Regions from separate parts of the Homo sapiens genome. Here region 2 is linked to region 1. Evidence: promoter capture Hi-C in human tissues and cell types (Jung and others, 2019). All regions are on one chromosome and are shown on one strand. Each heading gives the region's core, a stretch centred on a gene start or on the middle of the fragment in contact. The rest is flanking DNA. Distances are from core to core; before and after follow the strand shown. Region 1 holds the start of TMEM233 (transmembrane protein 233). Region 2 overlaps CCDC60 (coiled-coil domain containing 60).

What was found. Contacts are between HindIII fragments. The study calls those that stand out against the background at their distance.
Region 2: a contact is called between a fragment that was not itself captured here and the fragment with the promoter of TMEM233 in region 1, in 4 of the 25 tissues and cell types used here (H1 embryonic stem cells, dorsolateral prefrontal cortex, spleen and 1 more).

What each region holds. Positions count from the first base shown.
Region 1 is chr12:119,592,138-119,595,332 of GRCh38, forward strand. It overlaps TMEM233 (transmembrane protein 233), which reads left to right and starts at 1,637. Exons shown (of 3, transcript NM_001136534.3): 1 at 1,637-1,897. The coding sequence starts at 1,712. The region is part of intron 1 of PRKAB1-AS1 (PRKAB1, TMEM233 and CCDC60 antisense RNA 1); the gene reads right to left. RefSeq lists an enhancer at 1,625-2,198. The HindIII fragment of the contact is 2,865 bases long and covers 899-3,195 here.
Region 2 is chr12:119,515,918-119,519,227 of GRCh38, forward strand. It overlaps CCDC60 (coiled-coil domain containing 60), which reads left to right. Exons shown (of 14, transcript NM_178499.5): 8 at 706-790. The region is part of intron 2 of PRKAB1-AS1 (PRKAB1, TMEM233 and CCDC60 antisense RNA 1); the gene reads right to left. Among named protein-coding and RNA genes, the nearest start is that of TMEM233, 76 kb to the right of the region's middle. The HindIII fragment of the contact is 3,029 bases long and covers 1-2,808 here.

The sequences.
Region 1 (3,195 bases), core at 387-2,886:
GGAGCCATGTGACAGCCAGGGAAAAACAGCCGAGGCAGAGGGAACAGCCAATGCAAAGACTTGGTTGAGAATTCAGTAGATGAATCTAATCTTTTAGTTACTCCCATTTTATTAATCCATCAAAATGAGAAAGAAGGCATGGCGGAGAATGTACTATTTCATCTTTGTGTGTTCACCCAGCAAGCTATACTAAGCACCTCCCTTGTACCAGGAACTGTGCCAGATGCTGACACAAAGATGAGCCAGATGACCCCTTCTCTCGGGGAGTGTGCAGTCCAATGAGGGAGGCAGATAACAAAATAAGTATGGCTCATGAGATAAGTGAGAATCTCCCAGGCAATCAGCTTATATTCTGAGAAAGCCAAGAAGATGATTAATAGTTTCAAGTATGATGATGTGAGCAATTGCTTTTGACACTGCATGATCAAATTATTTTCATTTCTTTGTGGTCCTGCAGCTCAGAATACCTGGATTTTTGGTGAAATATTAGCAAGGGATATCAAGTTTAGGATACTGTATAATGCACTATATGTTTCAGAATATAAGGAGAAATAGTATGCTAATAATAGCTAATATTTATTGAGCACATGGATTGACCTGGATAATGTACCATCTCATAGAAGAGTCACTACGACTTTATGAGGCAGGGACTATTATTTCCCCTTTTTCAGATGGAGAAATAGGGGCTTAGCAAGATGAAGGGGCTTTCCTGAAGTGACAATTTCCTAGTTCTGTCTGGATTCAAGCTTCAGTTCTGGTCCATACGGCCCTCTCATGAATAGCTTAGACACTGATACAATTGCTTTTCTCACACTAGTCCCCAAAGTGGATACCTTGTTCTTCTTCCCAGCCCACTCATCCATCTAGGTTGCCTAGGCCAGCCTGATCTACCTGCATTTCTCCCCAGGGGTCCTGCAGGTGGAAAAGTGGAAAGAAGAATTCCTTGTTTCCACACTGGGGAGGGCACCTGGACGGGCATGGACCGGGCAGTGCCCACTGACTGACTATACTGGACTCCAGTCTCTTGAGCCCCAAGTAGAATGTGGAAAGCTTTGAGGCCAAAGCTGGGCACCTGGTTCCCACCCCACCTGGGGGAGGGGGTCGGGGGGAGGAGAAATTCCTGGGGCTCAGTGTTCAAGGTCTGAGGCACAGGAGACAAATCAAATGCCCAGGCACCAGACAGTTAAGGTAAAACGTTGAAGTCAAGAGGAAGTAGTGAGTCTGTTGCCAACTGGATAGGGTTGGTCCTGTCCCATCTAAATGTATTAGAATTAAGTGGCTTTTAAAAATGAGCTGGTCATCTTCAGCCCACGGGCTGGCCAATTTGGAACTTAATGGGCCTTTGCGTCCTCCTTCCCTGAGCCTCCTTTTATTCCAGACTTCTCAGTGTGAGTCTGTGCGTCCCTCCGACGATCTCAGGGAGTGGGGTGCCTTCATCTGCCTGTTCCCTGTTCCTCAGGCTGACGCTCCCGCTGTCCTCCCCGCCTCCCCTCACTCCTTTTCTCCCTCCCTTCCTCCTTGTGGGGAGGCTCTTGGCCAGGGTCCCTGAGCCCGGGCGGGTGCTGGCAGAGGACGCAGAAGGGGTGAGGTCACGTCTCCCTTGAGCCCCGAGCCGCTGGCTTTTCAGAGCCTCGCCACAAGCCGGCGGCCAGAGCCCCAGACCACACAGACCGTGCGCTCCTCCGCCCTCCCGGCGCCGCCGGCCTCGCCCATGTCTCAGTACGCCCCTAGCCCGGACTTCAAGAGGGCTTTGGACAGCAGTCCCGAGGCCAACACTGAAGATGACAAGACCGAGGAGGACGTGCCCATGCCCAAGAACTACCTGTGGCTCACCATCGTCTCGTGTTTTTGCCCTGCGTACCCCATCAACATCGTGGCTTTGGTCTTTTCCATCATGGTGAGTGAATCACGGCCAGAGGCAGCCTGGGAGGAGAGACCCGGGCGGCTTTGAGCCCCTGCAGGGGAGTCCGCGCGCTCTCTGCGGCTCCCTTCCTCACGGCCCGGCCCGCGCTAGGTGTTCTTTGTCCTCGCACCTCCTCCTCACCTTTCTCGGGCTCTCAGAGCTCTCCCCGCAATCATCAGCACCTCCTCTGCACTCCTCGTGGTACTCAGAGCCCTGATCAAGCTTCCCCCAGGCTAGCTTTCCTCTTCTTTCCAGCTCCCAGGGTGCGTTTCCTCTCCAACCCGGGGAAGTTCTTCCGTGGACTTTGCTGACTCCTCTGACCTTCCTAGGCACTTGCCCGGGGCTTCTCAACCCTCTTTTCTAGAGCCCCAGTGCGCGCCACCCTAGCGAGCGCAGTAAGCTCATACCCCGAGCATGCAGGCTCTACGTTCCTTTCCCTGCCGCTCCGGGGGCTCCTGCTCTCCAGCGCCCAGGACTGTCTCTATCTCAGCCTGTGCTCCCTTCTCTCTTTGCTGCGCCCAAGGGCACCGCTTCCGCCACTCTCCGGGGGGTCCCCAGGCGATTCCTGATGCCCCCTCCTTGATCCCGTTTCCGCGCTTTGGCACGGCACGCTCTGTCCAGGCAACAGTTTCCTCTCGCTTCTTCCTACACCCAACTTCCTCTCCTTGCCTCCCTCCGGCGCCCCCTTTTTAACGCGCCCGAGGCTGGCTCACACCCACTACCTCTTTAGGCCTTTCTTAGGCTCCCCGTGTGCCCCCCTCACCAGCAAAGTGGGTGCGCCTCTCTTACTCTTTCTACCCAGCGCGTCGTAGTTCCTCCCCGTTTGCTGCGCACTGGCCCTAACCTCTCTTCTCTTGGTGTCCCCCAGAGCTCCCAGGCGCCCCTCCACCGCTCTGTCCTGCGCCCGGGGCTCTCCCGGGAATGAACTAGGGGATTCCACGCAACGTGCGGCTCCGCCCGCCCTCTGCGCTCAGACCTCCCGAGCTGCCCGCCTCTCTAGGAGTGGCCGCTGGGGCCTCTAGTCCGCCCTTCCGGAGCTCAGCTCCCTAGCCCTCTTCAACCCTGGTAGGAACACCCGAGCGAACCCCACCAGGAGGGCGACGAGCGCCTGCTAGGCCCTCGCCTTATTGACTGCAGCAGCTGGCCCGGGGGTGGCGGCGGGGTGAGGTTCGTACCGGCACTGTCCCGGGACAACCCTTGCAGTTGCGCTCCCTCCCCCACCGGCTCACCTCGCCTGCAGCTGGGCCACGGAACTCCCCGGCCACAGACGCAGAGCCCTGATTCAGCGCTGT
Region 2 (3,310 bases), core at 44-2,543, 77 kb before region 1:
GATCAGAGAAGGTTTCCTGAGCAAGATGATTTATTCTCAGCTTTGGAAACAGTTCTCTCTGGCTGCAGTAGAGTTTAAGGTGGGGAAGGGAAGGGAGATGAAATGGGGGATAAAAAGAGAAGCTGGATCCTGGCAGGCCTCACAGGCTGTGTTGAAAGAATTTATTTATGTTTTATTTTTTATTTTATTATTATTGTTATTATTTTGATTCAGAGTCTAACTGTATCACCCAGGCTGGAGTGCAGTGGCATGATCTCGGCTCGCTGCAACCTCTGCCTCTCAGGTTCAAGCAATTTTCATGCCTCAGCCCCCTGAGAAGCTGAAATTACAGACATCCACCACCACGCCCAGCTGATTTTTGTATTTTTTGTAGAGGTAGGGTTTCACCATGTTGGCCAGGCTGGTTTCAAACTCCTGGCCTCAAGTGATCCACCTGCCTTGACCTCTCAAAGTACTGGCATTACAGGCATTAGCCAAACGTAACACAGAACCACTGATGGGTTTTAAGCAGGGGCGTGGCATGGTCAGATTTGCAACATGCCCAACACTATCAGCCACCTCTTCTGGACCCCAGTGGAATCTCTCTCCAGATCTCCAACCCTCAGGAGCAGAGGTGACCCCAGTTTGGGGGGCTGCACCCTGTTCTGCACAATCCTGTCTCAGGGGTGGCTTCTGGTCAAGGGTGACCTCTCATATTCTCATCAGATCTGCAGAAGCTCCTGGAGATGGTTCGGGAAGATGCCCGGAGGACAGTCACAATAGAAAATGGGATGCAAAGAAAAGCACCCAGGTATGTGCTCTTGACTCCTGGGGCAAATAAAGCTTAGAATAATAGCAATCACATTAACAGTAGTAGTTGCCAACTGTTGAGCATTTTCTCTGTGACAGGCACTGAGCTGTGTTGTTTATGTGTATCACCTCTCTGAGTTCTTACAATAATCCTACAAGGTAGGTACTATTATCTTTATTTTACAAATCAAGAAATGAGGCTCAGAGAGCCTATGTGACTAGTTCAAGGTCACTCAGCTAGTGAATGATAAGGCCATGACTCTAATCTAGACCTTTCTTACCAATTTATTTTTGTCTCTGAGACAGGGTCTCGCTCTGTTGCCCAAGCTGAAGTGCAGTGGCACAATCATAGCTCACTGCAGCCTCCAACTCCTGGACTCAAGTGATCCTCCCAACTCAGCCTCCCACGTAGCTGGGACTACAGGCACACACCACCACATCTGGCTAATTTTTTTTTTATTATTATTTTGTAGAGACAGGGTCTCGCTATACTGCCCAGGCTGGCCTCAAACTCATGGCTTAAGTGATCCTCCCACCTCGGCCTCCCAAAATGCTGGGATTACAGATGTGAATCACCATACCTGGCAAATCCAGACATTTCTAATTCCAAAAACCATTCTCTTTGCCATTCTGCCACACTGCTTCTCAGGAATCTTCTGGTTATTCATTCCTCCTTTGAGTGAATATTTATGAACATGTATGGGCTGTGTACTCATTATTATTGTGAGAAGTGTCCATTAAAGGAAAGCTTGAAACTGTGAGAACAAATAATAATGGCATTTGACCTAGTCTGGGTTGGGGATGGGGATCAGAGAAGTTTCCTCCAAGGAAGAAGCTTTAAGCTGAGATTTGGATAAAGCATGTAAATGAGCCAGCCTGATGAGGCTGGCATGGGCGGGTAGGGAGGTGGGGAAGAGAGTATTATAGGCAGCACATGTGCAAACGTGGTCAAAAGGGACCACAACACCTTCAGGGAACTGAAATGCAGCCAAAAAGGGATGAAACTCAAGGATTCTGGTTTTTATTCTAAGAGCAGCGGGAATCCTTTGAAGTTTCAAGCCAGCAACCGATATGATTAGCTCATAAGGAGGTACTATCAGACTTGAACCTAAGACATCCGCTTTCTGGTGGGAAGCCTCGTCCACAGACTTCTGACCTCTAAAAGCCCCAGAGAGCACACAGCCTAGAGCCAGAGCTCCCTTCCCAGGTGTGGATTCCTTTGAGTAAGCAAATTCCTTCCTGAAAATAAATGAGGCACTAGAAGAGGTTCATCATCACCTTCAGCCCACTGGGATGCCAACTATGACTTATTGGTTATTGTTATTACCACAATTACAGTTCACTGCGCACTTTCACATGCATCACACCTCGCCTCTGCTTGTGAATGATGAATTCGCTGGCTGCTGCCTCAACTCTCATTGGGGCTGCTCTGGAAGGTGGCACTTGGAGGCACTCAGAGACAATGCTGACCCATAAGGCCCCCACTGCTGTGCCTGATTTATAAGCATTAGAGACAGACAATAATAATGAAGCATCAGCTCAATGAGGCTCCTTCCTTTGTAAGAACCCACAGCACAAGCACTGGCTTTGGAGTCAGACTGATGTGGATCCAAAACCTATTGCCCTTGGACAAGTCATCTAGCCTTTCTCTAAACCTCTGTTTTCTCATCTGTAAAATGAGATTGTGTCGCATCAAAGCTTGGCTTTGGAACCAGACAAACTAAGGTCAGGCTCCATGGCCATGACTAATTGCCGGGTTATGTTGGGCAAGTTGCTTCACCTCTCTGAGTCTGATTCTCATTCTGTAAAATGAGGCTCATTAGCAGCCAATCCCAAAGGGTTGTAGTGAGAATAAGATAATATTATCCCTGTAAAATATTACTAATGTTATGGAAATAACATCTAGTTCAATGAAACATTTTAAGCACTTAATCAGATAATGCATTTATTTAACATATTAGCATGTGCCTGGCATAGAGTAAGTATTCAATAAATGGCAGTGAGGTTGGTGGTGGGGATGGTGGTGGGGACGGTTGTTACTTTTATCTCACACATGTTGCCCCATGGAATCTTCTCCTGCTGAGACAGGTACATTCACCATTACCATCACCCCATCCCATATATGTCAAAGAGCAACAAGCAGTGACTTCCATAAGGTCTTCAAAGACAAAACCACTCTAGACCCTGGCTCTCATGAGACCATCACATGGCCTCTGCTTTCAATTTAATGATAAAATAACCATGGTTACAGAGCAAGAATGTGTTGAAGTTTCCCTTCCTCATTAATTCCTCTGGGAAAAAAATCTCCCTAATCTTTTGCTAAGGCAGCAGACATTAAAGCTTCAACGCAGAGCTACAGAGAGACGGTTAGGAAAAGCTGGAAAAGCTGCAGATTCTCTTTTGCCCCTCACTTTAGAAGCTGGATTCCTTTCTCACTTTAGATCCCAAATCTGCTCCCATCAAGGCTGACATCGAACTGAGGGGCCTGCAGAAATCCCTACAAGCCAGCACATCCAGCCCC